Regions from separate parts of the Homo sapiens genome. Here all the other regions are linked to region 1. The links are contacts of gene promoters, found by promoter capture Hi-C in human tissues and cell types (Jung and others, 2019). All regions are on one chromosome and are shown on one strand. Each heading gives the region's core, a stretch centred on a gene start or on the middle of the fragment in contact. The rest is flanking DNA. Distances are from core to core; before and after follow the strand shown.

Region 1 (3,505 bases), core at 721-3,220:
GCTTTTGGGCAGGGTCAAGGTAAACGGAGTTAGTAGAGGGAAGGACTACTTCTCTTTCTGAAGTAGGGGGGCTTCCCTCAAAAGGGAAAAACTTCCGAGTGTTAAAAACCATTCCAAACAAGCCCCTGGTCCCTGGCTAAGGAGGTGGGCGTGGAGGGAGAAACTGAGGTGTGCGGCGCACCCCTCCGGCAGCGATCACTCCGTAGCTGGAGGCACAGCGGACGTCGGACAAGGGGGAGCTCAGCCCGCACGACACCCACTTAGGACGTGGGGAAGCTCGGCCCGCACGACACCCACCTGCGCCGCGGGAGCTCGCGCGGGGCCCCGCCCCCTCCCCTGGCGGCGCGGGCACTGAATGGGCAGCTCCGGATCCAGCCATCCCCGCCATCGCCGCCACCCCTCCCCCGGCCTTGGGCTCCCAGCGCCGCTGCCGTCACTGGGCGGGGAGCTGCGGGGCTGCGAAGCAAACAAGCCGGGAGCGCCGGCCGGGTCCCCCGGGCAGAGGGGCGCTGCCCTCCCCCATCCGAGAAAGGGGAAGGAGGCGCAGCCCGTCCAGGACCCGCCCCGCCCGGCCCAGGTTCGGCCCGGGTGCCCGCGCCGGGGGGTGGGCGCGGACCTTTCTGCCCCCTGGGCCGCGCGGGCCAGGGCGCGAGCCCCCCGGGGTTCTTGACTCGACTTTACCTCCTTCTTCACGTTCCACAGCAGTTTCTCTTTGACTGCGTCCTCTGCGCTGCCCATGGTGTGGCAGGAGGCGGCGCCGAGCGGTCCTCAGAGCCCCCGCGCCCTCGCCGCCTCCGCGCCTCTCGGCTCAGCGCCCCACGCGCAAGGCGGAGCCCCCGCCCGCCGCGCTCCCGGCCCGCCGCCGCCGCCGCCGCCGCAGCCACTGCCCGGTGCTCGGCTCCGCAGCCATCTTCCGAGCCCCGCACAGACGTCAGGCGGCAGGCCCGGCCCCTTCCCACAGCCGGAGGGGGGTTGCGCACAGCGACGGGGGATCGGGGCGGGGAGAGGCCGTGCGCGCCTAGGGGCGGCAGACCCGGGCGCGCGCCACGGGGGTCGCTGTCATGGCAACGCACCCGCTCCCGCATGGAGGGCGCGAAGCCGCATTGTGAGCGCTGGCCCTGGAGCCCGCGGCCCCGCGGCTGAGAGCGAGCCTCGGTCCCGCTGAAGCTCCCCTGACTTCTGCCTGCTCCCTCTCCCGACGGGACGGAAAGGGCCGGGGCTCGGGCATGGGGTCCCCTGCGGTCCGAGCCTGCCCACGGCGAAGCCGGTGCAGCCTGGCCCCGTGACCCCTCTGAATCCCCGTCCGGCCGTCGCCGTGCAGTTGTCAAGTTTCTGGGAAGATTAGTGGGAGCGCAGCCGCCCGAGCCCGACGGCCGGAGGGTCGCGGCCAGTCCCCCTTGCCGGGTCGCCACGTCCCACAAGGTCCTTCCCGGCCGCTCCGTGGGAGGCGGGGCGCAGGTTGGAGTAACAGGGACGGGCTTGAGCTGGTACGGAACCGGGCAAGGTGAGAGAAGTGTCTTCCACGCGATTCCCAAGCCTCGCTAGGGAATCGAGGGAGAAGAAAGGTTGCTCAGAGTGATAAAGAACATGCCGTTGCAAACGGAAGAGCAACGTGCCCGAATCTAGGTGACAGGAAGGGCTTAGGCCTTTTCGGCACGAATGGAGCCTTCCAGTCAACATGCTTCTACGTGATGCAGCTTTATAGCGCAAAAAAATGACAATGCAAGGGGTACAAACAGCCCTGCTAGACCAACAGCCCGAGCCTCGACAGTCTACATCCGGCGCCTTCAAGCCCCCAACCACACACTGCGAAGTGGGAAAAGTTCCCAGCGCGGCTTGGCGAACCCGCTAACACGGCGCTCTCACGAGCTGCTGGAAAAGACCTTCGCGAGAGGGCGCAGGGAGTCCCGCTCCCTGGAGGGCCCGCCCCCTTGGAGGGGACCGGAAGCGCTTGTCCTGGCCCGGAAGCAGTGCTGACTCCGTACACGCGCGCTGCGGCATGGCGGCCCACCGCCCCGGCCCGCTCAAGCAGCAGAATAAAGCTCATAAAGGCGGACGGCATCGGGGTCGGGGATCTGCACAGCGGGACGGCAAGGGTAAGGAGATAACGTAGAAGGAATAAGGGCTATTTGGCCGTTATTAACTCTTTTTCCTCATGCCCAGACTGAGCTTCTGTCTCCCGTCTGGGCTCCACGCGAAAGGCCCTTTCTAAGGTGGGCGGAGAGGAGTCCCTTTTCTTGACCTTGTGGGGCCGATCACACCAGCCCCTTCTAATCTGCCATTCAGGCCGTCTGGCACTGAAAACCCTAAGCAAGAAGGTGAGAAAAGAACTCAGCAGAGTCGACCAGAGGCATCGCGCCAGCCAGCTCCGAAAGCAGAAGAAGGAGGCGGTGAGAGGAGCGGGATTTGGGAGAATGCGGCTTCTCTGGTGTTCTAGGTGGCTAATGCCTCGAAGTGGAAAATGAGACCGGGAGGAGGGTCCAGGGACAGAGCATAGCCCTAGAGCACGTGTCGAGCGTGCAGGTCTAGCATTCTTTGCTTTGGTCAGAATTCCTGCCACCCCGCTGGCATACCTGTGGTCTTTTACTAGAGAGATGCTGGTTTTGGGTAGGGGGAGCATCTGTGGGAGTGGAAATGCAATGCTGGAGTGAAGTACTGAGACACTGAGATGTTCTCGGATATCTTTCTATTTTCAGGTTCTGGCAGAGAAGAGACAGCTGGGTGGCAAGGATGGCCCTCCTCATCAGGTACTGGTGGTGCCCCTGCACAGCAGAATTTCCCTGCCAGAGGCCATGCAGCTGCTTCAAGATAGGGACACTGGAACAGTACACTTGAATGAATTGGGAAACACCCAGAACTTTATGCTGCTGTGCCCCCGCTTGAAACATCGGTGGTTTTTCACCTCAGCAAGGCCAGGTTAGAGTATACACCAATATTTTGTATTATGTTTGAGTAGTGGTATTTTTTTTTTTTTTTTTTAGAATAATGTGCTGGTGCCAACCACCTCTTCTTACTGTGTCTTCTATCTGCAGGGGATCTGCACGTTGTGTTAGACATGGCTAAAGTAGCTGATACCATCCTGTTCCTCCTTGATCCACTAGAAGGCTGGGACAGCACCGGTGATTACTGTCTTTCCTGCCTCTTTGCTCAGGGCCTTCCGACCTATAGTAAGTGAGTTAGCATTTATTGTGCACCTTTAATTTGTCAGGCACTATGCCTGGTATTTGATACAGGAATACAACTGATGGATCATATTCAGCTGGTGGTGGGATGTACACATATGGATTAAACTTGATCCATTGTTTACAGATTATCACTCAGGGTGTCTTTTTGTTTTTGGCTGTCCTTTGCCCAGAGAAACAAGGATATGAAGTTTGATTTCACTGTGAAATTCCTTCAGGGTAGTTCAGTGTTGGGCTTCCCAGTGATCTCTGGGCTTGCAACTGAGCTATTAGGTTGTTTGTGAACTGCAGAGGGATTTTTATGTAATGAAGCAGTAGGTCAT
Region 2 (3,505 bases), core at 530-3,029, 390 kb before region 1:
TCACAGGCCGAGTGTCAAGATGCATGTCAGGATGGGTTCCTTGACTTCAAGGAACTTGTTCTATACGAGAAAAGAAACACACACACATTAGTAAATCCTGCATTTTACAAAAGCATGACTTCTTGCCATTGTAGAAATTCCTCTAAAATATTTGTTTACTTCACCCATAACATGGGGGAGCTGGGGGAGTTCAATGGGTGTAGACTTTTACTTTTGCAAGATTAAAAAGTTCTAAAGATCTGCTGCACCCCAACATGAATATACTTAACAGTAATGAATGGTACTCCTACAAATGGTTAAGATGCTAAATTTTGTCATTTTTTCCCCCACAATTAATTTTTTAATTGCATTCTTGAGATCTTTATCATCAGATTATAAGATCTCAGAACTAGGACTGAGTGTTACCCATTGTCTCTGAAGTATAACGCACGTTACCTGACTTGGAGGGACACAGTAATTTTTTTTTTTTTTTTTTTTGAGACGGAGTCTCGCTCTTGTCGCCCAGGCTGGAGTGCAGTGGCACGATCTCGGCTCACTGCAACCTCCACCTCCCGTGTTCAAGTGATTCTCCTGCTGCAGCCTCCCAAGTAGCTGAGACAACAGGCGCACACCACCATCCACCGGCTAATTTTTTGTATTTCTTAGTAGAGACAGGGTTTCACCATGTTGGCCAGGCTGGTCTCAAACTCTTGACCTCAGGTGATCCACCCGCCTCAGCCTTGCAAAGTGCTGGAAGTACAGGTGTGAGCCACCGAGTCTGGCCAGGACATAGTAACTATTTAATTAAAAATGAATCACAAGGCCAGGTGTGGTGGCTCACGCCTGTAATCCCAAGACTTTAGGAAACCAAGGCAGGAGAATCACTTGAGCCCAGGAGTTCAAGACCAGCCTGGACAAAATAGTAAGACTCTGTCCCTACCATTTTTTTTTAATATTAAAAAAATGTTAAAAGGAATCATAAAAAGTCTTTCTTGGCCAGAAGAGTTCTTAAGAACAGACTCTCTTCCATACTGATGTATTGCTTATAGATCAAATGCTACAGGCTGGAAGTTTAAGCTATGATGTTAGGAACCCTAGAAACTGCTTTGTGTATTCATGCATGAAGATCAGTTACAGACCATCTAAACACTTACGAACTTGGACTAATCCTGCCCTCTTTAGAGGACAACCACAGGCAACCTCTTGGTGCCTAGGTGGCTGGAGGAAGGCAGCACATGCCCCAGACACTAGATTAGGACAGTTCTGTGACACAGCCACTTTCACCCCACTTACTGTCCTTTATCTGAAAGGGCTTTTGAGATCACCTGGGCCCAAGCCACTGCCCCAATCCAATGTCTTCATCTTTTTGTTTTTTTTGTTTTTTTTTTTTGAGACGGAGTCTCGCTCTGTCGCCCAGGCTGGAGTGCAGTGGTGCGGTCTCGGCTCACTGCAAGCTCTGCCTCCCGGGTTCACGCCATTCTGCCTCAGTCTCCCGTGTAGCTGGGACTACAGGCGCCCGCCACCACGCCCGGCTCATTTTTTGTATTTTTAGTAGAGACGGGTTTCACCGTGTTAGCCAGGATGGTCTAGATCTCCTGACCTCGTGATCCACCCACCTCGGCCTCCCAAAGTGCTGGGATTACAGGCATGAGCCACCGCGTCTGGCCTTTTTTTTTTTTTTGAGACATACTCTGTCACCCAGGCTGGAGTGCCATGGCACCATCTCTGCTCACTGCAACCTCTGCCTCCTAGGTGGGTTCAAGAGATCCTTCCACCTCAACCTCGAGATTAGCTGGTACTACAGATACATGCCACCATGCCCAGCTTTTTTGTAGAGAGGGGTTTCGCCATGTCACCCAGGCTGGTTTTGAACTCCTGAGCTTAAGCAATTTGCCCCCCTCAGCCTCCCAAAGTGCTGGGATTACAGGCACGACCACTGTGCCTGGCTCTTTCAATGGGCTTTGAGAACTCTTTCTTTTTTTAGAGACAGGATCTTGCTCTGTTGTCCAGGCTGTAGTGTGCAGTAGCAGAATCATAGCTCACTGCAGCTTTGTACTCCTGGGCTCAAGAGATCCTCCCACCTCAGCCCTCCCCTGAGTCACTGGGATGAGTGTGTCAACCCACTGGGCTTAAGAACTTTCTTTGTCCTCTTTCGTTTTTTTTTTTTTTGAGACGGAGTCTCACTCTGGCGCCCAGGCTGGAGTGCAGTGGCGCGATCTCAGCTCACTGCAACCTCCGCCTCCCAGGGTCAAGCAATTCTCCTACTTCAGCCTCCCAAGTAGCTGGGATCACAGGCGCACACCACCATACCCAGCTAATTTTTGTATTTTTAGTAGAGACGGGGTTTCGCCATGCTGGCCAGGCTGGTCTCGAACTCCTGACCTTGTGATCCGCCCACCTTGGCCTCCCAAAGTGCTGGGATTACAGGCGTGAGCCACTGCACCCAGCCCTCTTTGTCCTCTTATCACTTGGTGATTTTCATCCTTCCAGGGTCACTCTTTGCCACTTTCGGCTGCCTACGTCCCTACACTCACCTGTGCCAAGTCCTAGGATATGGTCCTGCCGAGATGGAGCTTCCAGGAGGCAGGGGTCCTCAACTCACGCTGCACGTGAGAACCACCGGGGAAGATTTAAGCAACACCAGTTCCCAGGTCCAGCTCCAGGGATGCTGGTGCAATTGGTCTTTCATAGCGCCCAGGAAACAGCACTGGTTAAAGCTCTCTGGGTGGTTCTAATGTCTATCCAGGGTTGAAACCTGCTGCAGTGGCAAAGGCCAACAATAAACAAGTAAACAAAAAATGACAAACATGTGGCCAGGCACGGTGACTCCCACCTATAATCCCAGCACTTTATGAGGCTGAGGCAGGAGGATTGCCTGAACCCACAAGTTCGAGACCAGCCCAGGCAACATGGCAAAACCTCATCTCTACAAAAAATGTGCATGCCTGTGGTCCCAACTCCTGGGAAGGCTGAGGTGGGAGAATTACTCAAGCCCAGGTGATAGAGGCTGCAGTGAGCTATGCCGCTGCACTCCAGCCTGGCAAGAGGGAGACTTTGTCTCAAAAAAAAAAAAAAAAAAGGGCTGGGCGTGGTGGCTCACGCCTGTAATCCCAGCACTCTGGGAGTCCGAGGCGGGTGGATCACAAGGTCAGGAGTTTGAGACCAGCCAGGCCAATATGGTGAAACCTCATCTGTAAAAATACAAAAATAAATTAGCTGGGTGTGGTAGCGGGTGCCTGTAATCCCAGCTACTCCGGAGGCTGAGGCAGGAGAATCGCTTGAACCCAGGAGGCAGAGGGTGCAGTGAACCGAGATCATGCCACTGCACTCCAGCCTGGGTGACAGAGTGAGACTCTGCCTCAACAACAACAAAAGAGGCCAGGTGCAGTGGCTCACGCCTGTAATCCCAGCACTTTGGGAGGCTGAGGCGGGAGGATGACCTGAGGTCAGGAGTTCAAGACCATTCTGGCCAACATGGTGAAACCCCGTCTCTACTAAAAATACAAAAATTAGCCGGGCGCGGTGG
Region 3 (3,505 bases), core at 661-3,160, 380 kb before region 1:
TACGTATATACACACGCACACATAAGTATGTATGTGTATATATACACACATATATACACACTTTTATATATATTGATTATAAATATATATATTTTATATATACACTTATATATATACACACTATATATATACACACACTATATATATACACACTATATATACACACTATATATATATACACACACTATATATATATATGCACACTTTTTTTTTCTTTTTTTGAGACGGAGTTTCTCTCTTGTTGCCCAAGCTGGAGTGCAATGGCGCGATCTCGGCTCACCGCAACCTCCACCTCCTGGGTTCAAGCGATTCTTCTGCCTCAGCCACCCGAGTAGCTGGGACTACAGGCGCACACCACCATGCGCAGCTAATTTTTGTATTTTTAGTAGAGACGGGGTTTCACCATCTTGGCCAGGCTGGTCTCTAATTCCTGACCTCGTGATCCGCCCGCCTCTGCCTCCCAAAGTGCTGGAATTACAGGCGTGAGCCACCGCGCCCGGCTTTTTTTTTTTTTTTTTTTTTGAGACGGTGTCTGTGTCACCCAGGCAGGAGTGCAGTGGTGCGATCATAGCTCACTGCAGCTTGGAACTCCTGGGCTCAATCTGAGCCGTCCTGAGTGATACTCCCAGCTCAGCTCCCAAGTAGCTGGGACTACAGGCGCGTGCCACTACACCTGGCTTTTTTTAAACAATATTTTTTGTAGAGACGGGGGTTTTGAAATGTTGCCCAGGTTGGTCTCAAACTTCCGAATCCTGAACTCAAGTCATCCGCCTGGCTTCGGCCTCCCAAAGTGCTAGGATTACAGGCGTGAGCCGCTGCACCGCCCGGCCGAGAAGAATCTTACCAGTTCTCATCTTCCTTCCTCCCGTTTAAATGCTCACATCAAGTCGCTGGCTTTCCTCACCACGTGCTCTCCAGAACAAGGTCGGCTTTCCTTCGCAATTTGTGCGAGGCCCTACCTAAGGCCCTCCCAGCCCACCTCGGGAAGCTGAAGCTTTCCAGTTCTCATTAGAGCTTGACAAACGCTCCGAAGGTTATAGGCCTCGGGTGCTTCCCAAAGGCCCCCTGCGGCCTGGCCAGGAAAGACCCACCGGCGCTCTCTGCCTGGAGCACTTCAACTCACTGCAAGACCTGGTCCCAATGTCCCCTCTGCAGCATTCTCTGACCTCACCGTTCCGTCCCCGCCAAGCCCCTGCCAAGTGAAAAATACGAGTTAAAGCGTCCTGGCTGTGGATGGAGTCAGACCCGGCTCTACCCCTTGCTCTCTGTGTGACCTTGGTCTCGGCCTCCTCCACTGTAAAATGAGGACACCAGCCTGGAGGTGAGGACCCATGGGTCGAGGACGCGGGTAGGGAGCCCGTTCTGGCTCGGGGCAAAGTTTGGCGGGTCCATTCTGACTCTTGATCCCCATTAGCCACGTCTCGCCCTCGCCTCTCGTGCCCGTGCCCTAAGCGACCCTCCACTCCCTCAATAATCCAGCCGCACCCATTCGGCGGGAAAGGGCCTGCCGGGTGGGGAGGGCGCTGAGGGTCACGCGAACACCGCAGATGACAGACTGCGCGGTCATTTAGCAAATCTGCAAGAGAAAACAGGGGATCCTTGGAGAGGGGAGGATTAGCCATGGCAGAACCAGACCAGTCTCCACCCAAGGTCACAGTGCCCGCCCGACGGGCAGCGAGCAGCAGGGAGTCTCCCCGAGGCCCCGCCCCGCGAGGGCGCCCAGCCTCCCTGGGCCTTGAGTCAGAGTGCGTTGCCTTTAAGACGTTCTGGAAAGTCACCGCGTCCGTGGGCGGGGAACCAGGCGCGGCGCGTTTTGTCCCTCGCGGGCCGCCGTGGGCTGGGCCGGGCGCGAGGGTGGGGCAGGGAAACGGCGGCGGGGTCAAAGGCCACGGCGCGCACCACGTGGGCCGGTGACTCCGTCCTTCCCTCAGCAGCCGCGGCGCGCAGGGCACTTGGGTTAGTGGCGCGGCGGGCGGCGCGGACAGCCGAGGCGGACGCCCGCTCCCGCCACCATGGTTATCAAGACGGACGAGTTGCCGGCGGCCGCCCCGGCCGACAGCGCCCGGGAACACGGCTCGCAGGCCGGGGGCAAGGGGCGGCCGGGCGCGGCCGGTGAGCGGGGCCAGGGCCAGCGGGCCGCTGGGCGGGGGGCGCCGGACCAGGGCGGGCGGGTTCGGGACTCCGCGGGGATCGCCGCCTTCCCTCCGCGTCGGGCCCGGTTGTATCTCGCTGGGGCCTTCACCGGGTCGCCCCCGCGCTGAAGGTCACCTTCACAGTCGCCCCCGGCTGCGGCCCGGGTTTCGCACGTGCGGTCCCGTGGAGGGCAGCCTCGGCTGGCACCCTCGGCGGGCACACGCGCGCCTCATCGCGGGGACACGTGCGCGCACACGCGGTTTCGGGGTGCGCCGCCGCCGCAGACCGAAAGAATCGGCGGCCCCACCCCCTCTGCGCCCGAGCATGGGAGCTCTCTGAGCTGGGGTCGCTCCGACGTTTGCGGGACAGCCCCCTTCGGCACCTGCTCCGCGGCGGCCTCCCAGGCATCCCCTGTGCGCAGGGCTGCAGCCCTGGGAGTGAAGCTCCGCTCGAGGCTTCCCAGGCTTGGTTTGTGGGAAGAGCACGAGGTGCGGGGTGTGCGTTGTGAGGGGCGTCCCTGGTTCATGCCCTGAGGCCAGGCTATAACCGCAGGTCTTCAGGCTGTGGCGGAGACTCTCAGGTGTGTTGGCCTGCTCGGCCGACCTGGTGTAGGGGGCGTCTGCCTTTGCATGGGGCAGAGCCAAACTCCTTGGCAGGGGGAAGTGTTTGTGCCAGAACTTGATCATTAACCTGCCTTATTGCGAAAAGTGGGTCAGACCAGAGTTGCTGTTTTTAAGGCAAAGGTCGTTAGTGTGGAGTCAAGCTCCCAGCGATCCCCCATGGGGGCTGTATGGTGGTGACTGTGGCAGTGGCTGCAGCTTGTCTCGGGTGGGGCCTGCTTTCCCTTTCTCCTGAGCCCCTTCTCTTCCTTCTGTTCCCTCCACCGTGTCTCAGACTCCAGCCTTGGGGCTGGAATCCCCTTCCCAGGCCCTCAGTCGTCATCTTCCTCAGGCCCTCTTTGCTCTGGGTGGCAGTGGAGGTGCAGAGCTACTCCTGTCCCCCAGTCCCTCCCTCCTCCGTCGACTGTCCTCAGTTGGGACTTGTGGTCTTAACGCCTCATCATCTCCCTTCCTAGCTTCAGTGAGTGCGCCAGGGCTGACTTGGGAATCAGGATGGGGACAGCGTTCAGCCCTCTGACCCTGTTCCCATCATAGCGGAGTTGCCTTGGGGTGAGGGACAGGTGCTGGGGCAGTACTGCTGATTGTCTAGACAAGGCCAAGGTTTGGGCAGAAGAGCAGATGCTCATCGCCCCAACCTACCAGGCTTTGTGCTGATGTGGCTCTGAATCAGTGGGGGCAGGCTGGATGAGAGGAGGTTGGCTGATTTCCCCTCTAGCAGAGACCCGAAGAGTCGAAGTGACTTGCCCAAGGTC
Region 4 (3,505 bases), core at 454-2,953, 350 kb after region 1:
CCAGCCTGGTTCTACCAGGGGAAACCAGCTTACATGTCCCAGCCGGGAGGGAGCAGGGTTCCGATCCGGATTGGGTGGAGCCTAAAGGTTTTGTGGACCCCGTTATGAAAACGAGTCATGAGTACGGAGTTAGGTTCAGGACCCGGCGCCGTGGCTCACACCTGTAATCCCAGCACTTTGGGAGGCTGAGGTGGGAGGATTGCTTGAGCCCAGGAGTTCGAGACCATCCTGGACACACTGGGTAAGACCCCGTCTCTACAAAAAAAATAGAAAATGTTAGCCAGGCATGGTGGTGCCTGCCTATGGTCTTAGCTGCTTGGGTAACTGAGGTGGGAGGATCGCTTGAGCTCAGGAGTTTGAGACCATCCTGGACACACCTGGTAAGACCCCGTCTCTACAGAAAAAATAGAAGCTGTTAGCCAGGCGTGGTGCTGTGTGACTATGGTCTCAGCTGCTCGGGTGGCTGAGGTGGGAGGATCGCTTGAGCCTAGGAGGCGAAGGCTGCAGTGAACCTCGTTCCCGAATTAGGTGCAGCGTCTTGGGAAGGGCTTGCGGATGTTTTGTTAGTATCACTGTCAATTGGCCCCCGCTGGTGTCATTACTGGACAAGTATCCTCAGAAGAATGTGAGGTCTCGGCCAGGTGTGGCGGCTCACGCCTGTCATCCCAGCCCTTTGGGAGGCTGAGGCAGGTGGATCACTTGAGGCCAGGGGTTCAAGATCAGACTGTACAACATGGTGAAACCCTGTCTCTACTAAAAACACAAAAATTAGCCGGGTGTGGTGGCGGGTGCCTGTAATCCCAGCTGTAATCCCAGCTACTGTAATCGCTTGAACCTGGGAGGTGGAGGTTGCAGTGAGCCGAGATGGCGCCATTGCACTCCAGCCTGGGTGACAGGGCGAGACTCTGTCTCAGGAAAAAAAAAAAAAAGAAGAAGAAGAAGAATGTGAGGTCTCAGCATAGCTCCACCACCAAATGGCCCCCCAGAGGCACTTGCCCAGTTTGCGGGTTGCTGCCCTGCGGGGTGCCTGAGAGAGAACTGGGGAAAACCCAGCCCTTCAAGGAGCTCACAGCAAAGGGAGCCCAGCCTGTGGCACACAGTGACTGTCAGCCGCTGCCCCTCCCTGAGGTTCGCTTTACCTCCTGCTCAGCCACCCCATTCCTCCTTCCTCTGGGTCAGCAAGTTGTCGAACTTTCCTCACTCCATTTTCAGGGTTACCCAGCAACCTGGAGCTGTCGGGGAGCCTGGCGGTCCACCTCCATGCAGGAGGGGAGGGCTTCCTGCACGGCGTCGAGGGCCCGGTGTTTGTGGAACTGCCCCTTCCCAGAGTTTCTTTTCTTTTCTTTTCTTTTCTTTTCTTTTCTTTTGAGACGGAGTCTCGCTCTGACCCCCAGGCTGGAGTGCAGTGGCGCGATCTCGGCTCACTGCAACCTCCGCTCCCTGGTTCATGCCATTCTCCTGCCTTGGCCCCCCGAGTAGCTGGGACTACAGGCGCCCGCCACCATGCCTGGCTAATTTTTTTTTGTATTTATAGTAGAGATGAGGTTTCACCGTGTTAGCCAGGATGGTCTCGAACTCCTGACCTCGTGGTCCGCCCGCCTCGGTCTCCCAAAGTGCTGGGATTACAGGCGCGAGGCACCTCGCCCGGCTTCCTCTTCTCTTCTCTTCTCTTTTCTTTTTGAGACAAAGTCCTATTCTGTTCACCAGGCTGGAGTGGAGTGGCGTGATCTCAGCTCACTGCAACCTCCGCCTCCTGGGTTTAAGCGATTCTCCTGCCTCATCCTCCTGAATAGCTGGGATTACAGGCACTCTCCACCACGCCCAGCTAATTTTTGTAGTTTTTAGCAGAGATGGGTTTTCACCATGCTGGCCATGCTGGTCTGGAACTCCTGACCTCAGGTGATCCACCCGCCTCGGCCTCCCAAAGTGCTGGGATTACAGGCGTGAGCCACCGTGCCGGCCAGTTTCAATACATAAATACTCACTCTTGTGTTACAGTTGCCTGCCGTGTTCAGCACAGGCACGTGCTGTGCAGGTTTGTAGCCTAGGAGCAGTGGGCTATCCCATATAGCCTAGGTGTGCGGTAGGCTCTAGCATCTAGATTTCTGTAAGTATACTCTATGATGTTTGCACAGTGAAATGGTCTGATGATACATTTCTCAGAACACACCCTGTCATTAAGTGATGCATGACTGTGCTTGTTGGGTACAAGCTGTGTCCCAGACACTGCACTGTGGGTTCTAGAGCTTCCTGGGAGAACAGCAGTCCAGGCTGAGGCACACAGCTCCCAGGGCAGTGTGTACCAGCACGTCAGCCACAGCTCAGGCTGGAGCAGGCTCAGCTGGAAGGAGGCAGTGACTCGTGTGAGGCTGCTCAGGGTGGACCAGGTCAGCCTATCTGCACACGAGGCAGCCACAGGGCATGAGGGAGGGAAGACCTCAGCACAGCCAATCTGCACACGAGGCAGCCGCAGGGCAAAAGGGAGGGAAGGCCCAGCAGTCCCCTTTCCCTAAAGTCTCTGGAAAGCAGAGTTATGCAAAGAAAAAAATACCAAGATGGAGTCAGCTTCATTTCTAGGTTTTTGTTGTTGTTGTTTTTGGAGACAAGGTATCACTCTGTCACCCAGGTTGGAGTTGCAGTAGCACGATCACGGCTCACTGCAGCCTTGACCCCCAGAGCTCAAGTGATCCTCCCTCCTCAGCCTCCCAGGTAGCTGAGACTACAGGTGTGCACTACTATACCCAGATAATTTTAAATTTTTTTGTAGGGACGGAGTCTCCTTATGTTGTCCAGGCTGGTCTTGAACTGGGCTCAAGTGATCCTCCCTCCTCAGCCTCCCAAAGTGCTGCCAATGTCCTAGGCACGAGGCTCCCAGGAAACTGCTGGCCTCTTGCACTGTGACTCCCTGTGGGTCACAAGGGGCTCCTGTGGAGCACTTTACCCCATCAGTGCCTCCTGCCTGATGAGTGTGGCTCCAGGAAGCAGCCAGGGACAGGGGCCAGTTTTGGCCCCCTGGGAAACTCTGCTCCACTTCTTTTTTTTTTTTTTTTTTTTGAGATAGAATCTCACTCTGTGGCCCAGACTGAAGTGCAGTGGTGTGATCTCCGCACACCGCACTGCCACCTCCTGGGTTCAAGTGATTCTCCTGCCTCAGCCTCCTGAGTAGCTGGGATTACAGGCTACACCACCACACTCGGCTGTTTTTGTGTATTTTTAGTAGAGACGGGGTTTCTCCATGTTGGCCAGGCTGGTCTTGAACTCCTGACCTCAGGTGATCCGCCCGCCTCAGCCTCCCAAATGCTCCACTTTGATAAGGATTTAAATAGGTTGCTGAGCGGGCCCATGAATTAATCTCTTGTGTTTGTTTATTTATTTTTACTATAAAAGTAATATATGTCATCTGTGGAAAGTATGAAAAGTACAGAACGCTATAAAGAAGTGGGAGGGAGGCAAATACCCAGGGCAGAGCCAAGCACCACTGTTAGCATGTGAACATGTTTGCTCT
Region 5 (3,505 bases), core at 152-2,651, 340 kb before region 1:
GCCACAAAATTCTAAGAAAGTCCAAATGCCAGTAGTTTTCGTGTTTCTCTAATATACCATAACCCAAGAAGGTATCTAGTTTGCCAATTCAGTTAGGGAAGTTGAGACTCAATGATCAAATCCTGTATTAACATCTCAATAAAAACGCCTGTTCCTCTTTGGCCCATCCCAAATGGGGCTCAAATCCTTTTTCTTCTTTTTTCAAAGGCAGGGTCTCACTATGTTGCCCAGGCTGGAGTGCAGTGGCTGTTCAAAGGTGCGATCCCACTACTGATCAGCAAGGGAGTTTTGACCTGCTCTGTTTCTGACCTGGGCCAGGTCACCCCTCCTTAGGCAACCTGGGAGTCTCCTGTTCCCAGGAGGTCACCATATTGATGCTGCACTTAGTGCAAACATCCCATCAGCACAGCACACTGTAACCCAGAACTCCTGGGCTCAAGCAATCCTCCAGCCTCAGCCTCCTGAGTAGCTGGGACTAAGGCACAGCAGGGCTCAAATCTAACAATACACAGTCTCGCCATATCCATTTACTGAACACGATGTTCCAGGCATGGCATAAATGCTCCGTATTTGTGCCTAATCCTTGAACCAATCCTGTGAGGCAGGTATTAGCCCACCTTACGCAGGCTTTGGTCCATTATACTTTAGTGCATTTATTATACTTGACTGTATTCACTCTCTTAAATTCCAGATTCAAGTCCAGATGATAGTGAGGATGTTTACTCAAATCAAATACAATTTTCTGAGTTTCTAGTATCTGATAGTATACACCTGCCAGTGGGAAAGGTTGAGGAAGATTTTGTTTGAGAAACAAACTAATAGGGGAGAAAAATTACCCATCAGAGTGGTAAGTAACCTCTTCACAAATTGTGGTTTCCAAAACCAATGTTGTGCAGTGGAGAAAGTAATGTTTTTATTATAAGGCTAACGATGGAAAGAGTTAACGGGAAAGGAGAATTTAAAACAAATGGTAGGAATCCACAAGATTTTCATGTCTTCTCTATTCTGCCCTGAAAGCACAGTCATTTCTTACCTGGCAAAGTCCACACGATTATGTAAAACACAGTTTGTCTGGCACTCCAAAATCTAATGTTCAGAGACCTCGCGAGGCGTACATACCCAAGGAGGTAACAAAGTGTTCATGCGCATTGAGGGTCTTCATGCATCGCTTGTTCTTGTAATCCCATACGCGTAGGGTCTTGTCATCAGCACAACTCAAAATAAACTTCCCCCCAGAATGGAACAGAACTCCACGTACCCAGTTATCATGACCCACCTTAAAAACAAAAAAGTTATTTGACTCAGTAAAAGGCAAAATGTTTAAATAGCATCTATTTCATAATACGATAAAACTATACATACCAAAAACATCAAAAGACCAGAAGAAAATAAAAGTCTAGGGGATTCTAGATTAAAGGAAACTGAAAACTCATAAGACATGAGGAGTGAATATAACGTACGATCCCTGACTGGGTCCTGGATGAGGGTTAAAAAGAAGTCCCGCAGGGCATTATGGAAATAACAAGAACAAATCTCAATATGTAGTCTATCAATGGTAAATTTCTTGAGTGTGAATAATTTTATTTTGGTTATTTATATACTATCCTTGTTCTTAGGTGGTTCATGCTAAAATACTTGGGGGTAAAGTGTTACGATGTCTGCAAAGAACGCTCAAATGATTTCAGCAAAATATACACACATACATGAAGGAAAACCAACAAATGGTAACTAAGTGAAGGATATACAGGCATTCACTATATATCTATATATCCATCCATCCATCCATCCATCCATCCATCCATCCATCCAATCATCCAATCATCCATCCATCCACCCACCCACCCATCTATCTATCCATCCAATCATCCATCTAATCATCCATCTAATCATCCATCCATCCATCCATCCATCCAATCATCCATCCATCCATCCATCCAATCATCCATCCATCCATCCATCCAATCATCCATCCATCCATCCAATCATCCATCTATCCATCCAACCATCCAATCATCCATCTATCCATCCATCCAATCATCCATCCATCCATCCATCCAATCATTCATCCATCTAATCATCCATCCATTTAATCATCCATCCATCTATCCATCCATATTTCCCCTGTCGCAGCAGTTCTGTTCTTGCAATTTATCTTTAAGGACATGCCCAGAGATTTAGTTAGCAAAGATGTTCACAAAGCATTGTCTGTAGATCAGTGTAGAAGAGCATCTAACAACATAAGCAAGGATCACATACTTTCTAAATTAAAGGTTTGCTACAAAGCTACCTTAAGGGGCATGATACCATTTTTATAAAAAATAGCACATTCATCTACACATTAAAGAAAAAGGCTTAGAACTGCACAGTTGAACATGGTAGCTACTGTCCATGTACGCCTACTTTAATATATAATATTAAGATTACATACAACCAACAATTCAGTTCTTCAGTCTCACTAGCCACATTTCAAGAGTATAATAGCTGCATGTGGCTAGTAGCTACCACGCTGGATAGTGCAGTTATAGCACAGCACTGCAAAATTTTGTTTTGTTTTAAAAAGAGACAGCAACTCTGTTGCCCAGGCTGGAGTATAGTGGCATGATCACGGCTCACTAAAGCCTCAAATTCCTGGGTTCAAGTAATCCTCCTGCCTTAGCCTCCCAAGTAGCTAGGACTATAGGCATGCATCATCATGCATGACTAATTTTTAAACTTTTATTTTGGTAGAGACAGGGTCTTGTTATGTTGCTCAGGCTGGTCTCAAACTCCTGGGCTCCTCCTGCCTTGGCCTCCCAAAGTCCTGGGATTACAGGTGTGAGCCACTGTGCCTGGCCAAGAGTATGTTTTTCTTGTTTCTTTTCTTTTTTTTTCCTGGAGACAGAGTCTTACTTCACTGCCCAGGATGGAGGGCAATGGTGCGATCTCGGCTCACTGCAACCTCCGTCTCCCAGGTGCAAACGATTCTCAAGCCTCAGCCTCCCGAGTAGCTGGGATTACAGACGTGCGCCACCATGCCCGGGTTTTTTTTTTTTTTTTTTTGAGATGGTTTCACTCTTGTTGCCCAGGCTGGAGTACAATGGCGTGATCTTGGCTCACTGCAACCTCCGCCTCCCAGGTTAAAGTGATTTGCCTGCCTCAGCCTTCCCAAGTAGCTGGGATTACAGGCATGTGCCACCATGCCTGGCTAATTTTGTGTTTTTAGCAGCGATGGGGTTCCTCCATGTTGGTCAGGCTGGTCTCGAACTCCCAACCTCAGGTGATCCACCCATCTCGGCCTCCCAAAGTGCTGGGATTACAGGCGTGAGCCACCGCGCCTGGCCACGCCCGGCTAATTTTTGTAATTTTAGTAGAGACGGGGTTTCACCATGTTGGCCAGGCTGGTCCTGAACTCCTGACCTCAGGTGATCCACCTGCCTCAGCCTCCAAAAGTGCTGGGATTGCAGGAGTGAGCCACTGCGCCTGGCCTGCTTTATTTTAATTATATATCATCTTTTCTTAACAGCAA
Region 6 (3,505 bases), core at 288-2,787, 300 kb before region 1:
CTAATCTTGCAACTTTATAAATTTGAAATTACTTCCAAATAAAAATTGTTGAAAAGCCACAAAATTTTTTTTTTAATTGTAAAAATATAGAACATACTCATGCCTGTAATCCCAGCACTTTGGGAGGCCAAAGCAGGAGGATCACGAAGTCAGGAGTTAGAGACCAGCCTGGCAAAGATGGTGAAACCCTTTTCTCTACTAAAAATACAAAAATTAGCTGGGCGCAGTGGCAGGCGCCTGTAATCCCAGCTACTTGGGAGGCTGAGGCAAGAGAATTGGTTGAACCCTGGAAGCGGAGGTTGCAGTGAGCCGAGATTGCACCACTGCACTCCAGCCTGGGCGACAGAGCAAGACTCCATCTCAAAAAAAAAAAGAAGTAGAACATAAAGCTACATTTTCCCGTTTTGTTTTTATGTTTTTAAAGCTAGTCAGGTGAAGCGGGGGAGTGGAAAATCCCCCTATGTTCTTCACCTATAAAAATGGAATGCTATAAAATACTCTAAAACAGAAGAGGTCAAACCATTTCACACCTCTCTCATTAAAGCATCTGCATTAATTATTTTATTAGCTACCTCATAAAGTTCAAATTCTTCAAATTCTGTAATGGCCATTGGAAGATAAAAGAAACACAACAAGGCAAAGGAAAGACATCAGTGATAACAAGAACAAAACAGCTTTCATTTTTCTAATGCACAGATTCCACACCAAAAAAAGGTTTAGAGGAGCTATGAAGCACCTAACTTCCTATTGAACATAATATTTTAAAAGATAAGCTTAGGGGCCAGGCGCGGTGGCTCACGCCTGTAATCCCAGCACTTTGGGAGGCCGAGGCAGGCGGATCACGAGGTCAGGAGATTGAGACCATCCTGGCTAACACGGTGAAACCCCATCTCTACTAAAAATACAAAACTTAGCCAGGCGTGTTGACGGTCACCTGTAGTCTCAGCTACTCGGGAGGTTGAGGCAGAAGAATGGCGTGAACCCAGGAGGCAGAGCTTGCAGTGAGCCGAGATTGCGCCACTGCACTCCAGCCTGGGTGACAGAACGAGAGTCCATCTCAAAAATAAAAATAAAAATAAGCTTAGGGTAAAACTCATCCCAACTGACTTGTCTGTTTTGCGTTAAACTTACATACAGTCAAGTCACAAGGGTGAATAATGCTGTATCACGGCCGGGCAAAGTGGCTCATGCCTGTAATCCCAGCACTTTGGGAGGCCGAGGTGAGTGGATCACTTGAGGTCAGGAGTTCGAGACCAGCCTGGACAAGATGGTGAAAGCCCATCTCTACTAAAAATACAAAAATTAGCTAGGCATGGTAGCGGGTGCCTGTAATCCCAGCTACTTGGGAGGCTGAGGCAGAAGAATAGCTTGAACCTGGGAGGCGGAGGTTGAAGTGAGCCGAGATGGCGCCATTGCACTCCAGCCTGGGTGACAAAAGCGAAAAACTCCTTCTCAGAAAGAATAAATAAATTTTAAAAATAATGCTATATCATAATAAGACTGTTTTAAAATCAGACCAAACTGCCTAAACTAATATTGGAACACTGGTAAAAATAGTTTTAATCTTAGAAGAGACCTCCCAAAGCTGTATTTTAATTTACTACTTTCTCTCTCATGAGGGAGATTTTTTTTAAAGCACAAAACAAAGAAACTTACAGTTCATCTCGTTGTCTCTGGGACAGCACCATCTTGGCTGTAATGTCAAGCTTATCTGATATAGTGGTATGTCCCTCCTTTGGGAAATCAAAAAGCTTTTTGATCCGTGGACTTATAATTTAAATATGCCACTAAGTGTCTTCCACACAGGGGAAAATGATTCTTTCACAAATGAATCCAACTAGTAACCAGAAGATATTCAACAAGTAAGATTCATTCCACCTAAGGAGAAAGAGAAGAAAAAAAAAGATTATTTCACTTAAAATTTATTTCTAAATTATTAGTTACAGTACTCATTTTCAAAGATAAATTTTATTGTGATGTTAGTATAAATATTAGATGATGATTTTCCACTTATAGTGAAAGTCAACTAATGTCAAAAACCATACTGTTTTGTCTTTTAAATTAATAATTCAATGAGCCAAAACAGCATTACTTTTAAATTTAACATACATTTACCCACTCCCAATCATGTTAACCTGCCAGATACATTTGATTTCAAATATTAACATGTAACTCTAAACGAATGTAATTCTCTCTTAGAGACAAAAAGTAAAATTTCAAATTTACAAAAAAGGTATAAAAGGTAAAACAGATAAGGGTTTCATGAACTGCACAAGCCGAACAGTGCCAACTATAACTGAAGTAACCTTCAAGGTTGAGTGTTAGTCACCAATAACCTTAGAATGGCCGGTATTTATAACATACACTACTTAGCAATCTTACGCTTTTTATTGTTTTTTTGGAGACAGGTTCTCACACAGGTTGGAGTGCAGTGGCATGATCACAGCTTATTGCAGCCTTCCCCCTCTGGGCTTAAGCGATCCTCCCACCTCAGCTTCCCAAGCAGCTGGGACGACAGGCACACACCACCATGCCCAGCTAATTCTTAAATTTTTTTTTTGTAGAGACAGGTCTCCCTACATTGCTGGTCTCAAACTCCTGTATTCATGGGATCCTCCTGCCTCAGTCTCCCAAAGTGCTGGAATCTTATGCTCTCTTAACCAATGTACCTAATTAAGAAATGTATTTGAGATGGTCTTACTTAAAATAGAGGCTACTGGTATATATAAAATTTGATTGGAAGAGGCAATTCAAAGCAATAAAAAAATCATCCTCCAAATGATATGAAATTAACATATAATGAAGATCCTGTGGGACAACCAATCTAGAAACCTATCATGGACAGAAGAGTTAAGGACCATTTCCTGAGTACCTTTCAAATGCCATTCCAGTCACTGCTCCAGGCACTGAGAATACAGTAATGAATAAGCCAGTGAAGAAAGAAGAATGAGAGGCGGGGTGTGGTGGCTCACATATGTAATTAATCCTAGTACTTTGGGAGGTTAAGGCAAGAGGATCACTTGAGCCCAGGAGTTCAAGACCAGCCTGGGAAACACAGGAGACCCCGTCTCTACAGAAAATTTTAAAAATTAGGTAGGTGTGATGGTGCATGCTTACTTGAGAAGCTAAGGCAGGAGGAATGCTTGCTACCCAAGAGTTCAAGGTTATGGAAAGCTACGATCATGCCATTGCACTCCAGCCTAGGTGACAAAGCGAGACCCAATTTCTTTTAAAGGAAAAAAAAATGCATACCTTCGGGTTTCAAATATGAGCCCTGAGGCCAGGCGTGGTGGCTTATGTCTGCAAACCTAGCACTTTGGGAGGCTGAGGTGGGCAGACCACTTGAGGTGAGGAGTTTGCGACCAGCCTGGCCAACACGGTGAAATCTCGTCTCTACTAAAAATACAAAAATTTGCGAGAAATTGCTTGAACCTGGGAGACAGAGGTTGCAGTGAGCCAACATGCTACTGTACTCCAGTCTGGGCAACAGAGGAAGAGTCCGTCT
Region 7 (3,505 bases), core at 627-3,126, 280 kb before region 1:
CCACTGCACCCGGTCTGCCCTTTGCCTTTCACCATAAGTCCCAAATGTACATTATGAGATGGTTTCTATTACAGTCTTGTGATGGTTAATTTTACATTCCAACTTGGCTAGGCCCAGTATATTTGATCAAACAATAGTTTAGATGTTGCTGTGAAGATATTTCTTCAGATACAATTAACATTTAAGTCAGCAGACTCAGAGTAAAGTCAATTATCTTTATAATGTGGGCGGGCCTTATTCTATCAGTTGAAGACCTTAAGAGAAAAAGAAAAGACTGATTTCCCAAGTAAGATAGAATTCTGCCAAAAGACTGCGTTTGGACTTGAGATGCAACATCACCTCTTCCCCAGGTCCCCGGCCTGTCAGCCTACCCTACAGATTTTGAACTTGCAAGCCTTCACAATAGCATGAGCCAATTCCTCAAACATCAATCAACCAGTCAATCTCTACACACACACACCCTATTGGCCTTGCTTCTCTGGAGAAACCTAATATACTGCCATACTCCAGCAGTAGTATTCTTCTATAATATAGAACCGTTATTAATATAAGCTTAGTCTGTCACTAAACTCTACCAGAATGAATATTCTTCACTCTTCATACTGCTTGAACTCTACTCCCTGGGTACCCTCCAAGCAAATTAATGCTTTCAAGGATTATCAAATGTAATAAACTGCTCTCCATTCTACAACAAACAAGAAAGATGTGCTGAATAAGGGCTATTTGAAGAATAAAGTAGGTAACTGAGAACTCATCCTATTCTTGTTTCGTCGTTGCTTTCTTTCCACTAAGTTTTTGTATTCACTGCCTCTGCCGCTTGTAAGCACCCTCATTAATGCTCATCTTTCCTCTCTTTACTTTTCTCTCCTTGTGTCTTCTTTCTCAGTCTGTCTACCTTATCACCTCCTGGATTTCCTTATCACCTCCTGGGTGCATCCTTATTGCCACACCAGACTGATCAAACATGTTAGGTACAATCTTCATCCCAGATGTGTTCATTTGTTGATGGGTGCTCAAAGACTACTTCTTCACTGCCCCTCTAAAAAGAGAAAGTTTCAGGCTGGGCGCGGTGGCTCACGCCTGTAATCCCAGCATTTTGGGAGGCCAAGGCAGGGGGATCATGAGGTCAGGAGTTCAAGACCAGCCTGGCCAAGATGGTGAAACCCTGTCTCTACTAAAAATAGAAAAATTAGCCAGGCGCGGTGGCAGGCCCCTGCAGTCTCAGCTACTCGGGAGGCTAAGGCAGGAGAATCGCTTGAACCCGGGCGGCAGAGGTTGCAGTGAGCCAAGATTGTGCCACTGCACTCCAGGCTGGGCGACACAGTGAGACTCCATCTCAAAAAAAAGAAAGAAAGAAAGTTTCCTACTTTTGTCTTCGAAATGAAGCCATTTTGAACACCTAAAGGTTCTAAAGAAACTGAATTATGACTTTAGATTTTGTCATAAATCGCTTTTTCCTTGTACTTTCTATCTGATATCAGTTGTTGTATATTATACACATGTACAGTCATTCCAGGACCCCCCGGATACCAATAAAACAATGCTCGAATCCCTTATATAAAATGGCTTAGTATTTGCATATAACCTACACATATACTCTCATATACTTTAAATCATCTCTAGATTACTTAGAATACCTAAAAAAATAAAAGCTATGTAAATAGTTGTTATATTGTATTGTTCAGGGAATAATGACAGGAAAACTGCATGTTCAGTACTGACACAACTATCATTTTGTCTGAATAGTTTCAATCTGGAGTTGGTTGAATCCACAGTACAAAACCCATGGATATGGACGGCCAACTGCATATGCCACAAATAGTGGGAAGGAATGTGAGGACAAACATTGACTGTTTTCGTATGATTTTCAAGATTGTGGGTCACTTTTTTCCTTTAAATTTACTTTAATGTTGGCCTGCAATGGTGGTGCACTATAATCTTTGCCCCTTTGGAGGCTGAGGTGGGAGGATTGCTTGAGGCCAGAAGTTTAACACCGGCCTGGGCAACGCAGCAAGACTCATCTCTAAAAAAAAAGAAAAGAAAAAATTATAAAATCTAGCCATGCATGGTGGCATGTGCCTGTAGTCCTAGCTACTCAGGAGGCTAAGGTGGGAGGATCACTTGAGCCCAGGAGTTCAAGGCTTTGGTGAGCCATGATGACACCACTGCACTCCCGCCTAGGCAACAGAGCTTTTATAAAAGTCGTCTTTAAAAATCCTTCAAGAAGAAAACACAGTTGCCTTGTTCATTATATAACTATCTAGTCTTCCTGGGATGTTGTAATACAGACACATTCTTTGCATCTATATTAAGTTTGCTGCTTTCTATCTTATGTTCTCTCCCCTTTGTATCTAGACCAGGGGTCAGCAAACTCTGCAAAGATAGTAAGTATTTTAGGTTTTGTGGGCCATTCAGATTCTGTAGCAACTCTTCTGCCACTGCAGTAAGAAAGCAACAATAAACAATATACTGGCTAGGTAAGTGCCACGGCTCACTAATCCAGCACTTTGGGAGGCTGAGGCATGAGGATCCCTTGAGCTCAGGAGTTTGAGATCAGCCTGGGCAAAACAGCAAGACCTCATTCTACCACAAATTTAAAAATTAGCCAGGAATGGTGGCACACACCTGCGGTCCCAGCTACTCAGGAGGCTAAGGTGGGAGGATAGCTTGAGCCTGGGAGGTTGAGGCTGCAGCAGTGAACTGTGATCACATCACTGCACTCCACCCTGGGCGACAGAGCCAGACCCACGTCTCAAAAAAAAAAAAAAAAAAAAACCCAATATATAAACAATATATAATATATAAAGAGGCCGCTCATTGCGCTACTGTTGACAAGGAGCTGCCACAGCCGCCCCCTCTTGCTGTCGCCCCAGAATGCCCCTCACATCACCCTGGGCCCCCATTTCAGGCCCCCCTTTCTGGGAGTGCCCTCACCTCTGTGCCAGATCCCAGGCTACGGATTCCTGCCCCTGCCCGAGTGGAGATGCTCGCCCGGCATCAGGAGCTCCTGCAGAAGCAGAACCTGGCCCAGCGCCACAGGGGGACTCTCTGTGGATGGGGAGGAGGCCCCAGCCCTTGAGGACGTCAGCAAGTGGACCATGGATGATGTCTGCAGCTTCGCGGAGGGGCGGCTGTCTGGCTGTGGAGAGTATACTCAGGTCTTCAGGGAGCAGGGGATCGAAGGGGAGACCCTGCCACTGCTGACGGGGGAGCACCCGCTGACCACCACGGGGTTGAAGCTGGGGCCTGCCCTCAAGACCCAGGCCCAGGTGGCCAGGCGCCTGGGCCACATCTTCTACATGGCCAGCTTCCCCATGGCTCTGCCGCTGCAGCCACCAACACTGCGGGCCCCAGAGAGGGAACTCAGCACAGGAGAGCAGCAGCCCTTGTCCCCCATGACAGCCACCTCCCCCTATGAAGGGGGCCACGGCCCTGCCGGCTGAGCTTCGCCCAAGCAAGAAAATGGGACCTTGGCTCTGCTTCCAGGGCCCCCAGACCCTTCCCA

The links. Contacts are between HindIII fragments. The study calls those that stand out against the background at their distance.
Region 2: a fragment that was not itself captured here is called in contact with the fragment with the promoter of TSR1 in region 1 in 1 of the 25 tissues and cell types used here (H1 embryonic stem cells).
Region 3: a contact is called between the fragment with the promoter of CLUH here and the fragment with the promoter of TSR1 in region 1, in 1 of the 25 tissues and cell types used here (dorsolateral prefrontal cortex).
Region 4: a fragment that was not itself captured here is called in contact with the fragment with the promoter of TSR1 in region 1 in 2 of the 25 tissues and cell types used here (IMR-90 fibroblasts and bladder).
Region 5: a contact is called between a fragment that was not itself captured here and the fragment with the promoter of TSR1 in region 1, in 1 of the 25 tissues and cell types used here (hippocampus).
Region 6: a fragment that was not itself captured here is called in contact with the fragment with the promoter of TSR1 in region 1 in 7 of the 25 tissues and cell types used here (H1 embryonic stem cells, IMR-90 fibroblasts, dorsolateral prefrontal cortex and 4 more).
Region 7: a fragment that was not itself captured here is called in contact with the fragment with the promoter of TSR1 in region 1 in 4 of the 25 tissues and cell types used here (bladder, heart right ventricle, hippocampus and 1 more).

What each region holds. Positions count from the first base shown.
Region 1 is chr17:2,334,922-2,338,426 of GRCh38, reverse strand. TSR1 (TSR1 ribosome maturation factor) reads left to right here and starts at 1,970. Exons shown (of 15, transcript NM_018128.5): 1 at 1,970-2,096; 2 at 2,287-2,390; 3 at 2,697-2,916; 4 at 3,033-3,167. The coding sequence starts at 2,000. It overlaps SGSM2 (small G protein signaling modulator 2), which reads right to left and starts at 926. Exons shown (of 24, transcript NM_014853.3): 1 at 682-926. The coding sequence starts at 738. RefSeq lists silencers at 243-552, 583-682, 783-892, 993-1,302, 1,333-1,462 and an enhancer at 1,693-1,802. The HindIII fragment of the contact is 7,910 bases long and covers 1-3,505 here.
Region 2 is chr17:2,726,467-2,729,971 of GRCh38, reverse strand. All of the region lies in intron 3 of CCDC92B (coiled-coil domain containing 92B), which reads left to right. Among named protein-coding and RNA genes, the nearest start is that of CLUH, 16 kb to the right of the region's middle. The HindIII fragment of the contact is 6,490 bases long and covers 1-3,505 here.
Region 3 is chr17:2,710,169-2,713,673 of GRCh38, reverse strand. CLUH (CLUH binding protein of NUMT mRNA) reads left to right here and starts at 1,910. Exons shown (of 26, transcript NM_001366661.1): 1 at 1,910-2,112. The coding sequence starts at 2,013. It overlaps LOC105371592 (a long non-coding RNA gene), which reads right to left and starts at 1,365. Exons shown (of 2, transcript NR_136412.1): 1 at 1,275-1,365; 2 at 841-1,192. RefSeq lists enhancers at 645-1,540, 1,541-2,437, 3,272-3,351 and silencers at 1,602-1,781, 1,912-2,031. The HindIII fragment of the contact is 23,363 bases long and covers 1-3,505 here.
Region 4 is chr17:1,980,476-1,983,980 of GRCh38, reverse strand. The region is part of intron 1 of RTN4RL1 (reticulon 4 receptor like 1); the gene reads left to right. Among named protein-coding and RNA genes, the nearest start is that of RTN4RL1-AS1, 35 kb to the left of the region's middle. RefSeq lists enhancers at 63-904, 905-1,746. The HindIII fragment of the contact is 8,412 bases long and covers 1-3,505 here.
Region 5 is chr17:2,677,935-2,681,439 of GRCh38, reverse strand. It overlaps PAFAH1B1 (platelet activating factor acetylhydrolase 1b regulatory subunit 1), which reads right to left. Exons shown (of 11, transcript NM_000430.4): 10 at 1,120-1,276. It also overlaps the pseudogene RN7SL608P. Among named protein-coding and RNA genes, the nearest start is that of MIR6776, 13 kb to the left of the region's middle. The HindIII fragment of the contact is 7,278 bases long and covers 1-3,505 here.
Region 6 is chr17:2,636,472-2,639,976 of GRCh38, reverse strand. PAFAH1B1 (platelet activating factor acetylhydrolase 1b regulatory subunit 1) reads right to left here. Exons shown (of 11, transcript NM_000430.4): 2 at 1,657-1,878. The coding sequence starts at 1,688. Among named protein-coding and RNA genes, the nearest start is that of PAFAH1B1, 45 kb to the right of the region's middle. The HindIII fragment of the contact is 4,031 bases long and covers 1-3,505 here.
Region 7 is chr17:2,613,292-2,616,796 of GRCh38, reverse strand. The region is part of intron 1 of PAFAH1B1 (platelet activating factor acetylhydrolase 1b regulatory subunit 1); the gene reads right to left. It also overlaps the pseudogene SAMD11P1. Among named protein-coding and RNA genes, the nearest start is that of PAFAH1B1, 21 kb to the right of the region's middle. The HindIII fragment of the contact is 6,951 bases long and covers 1-3,505 here.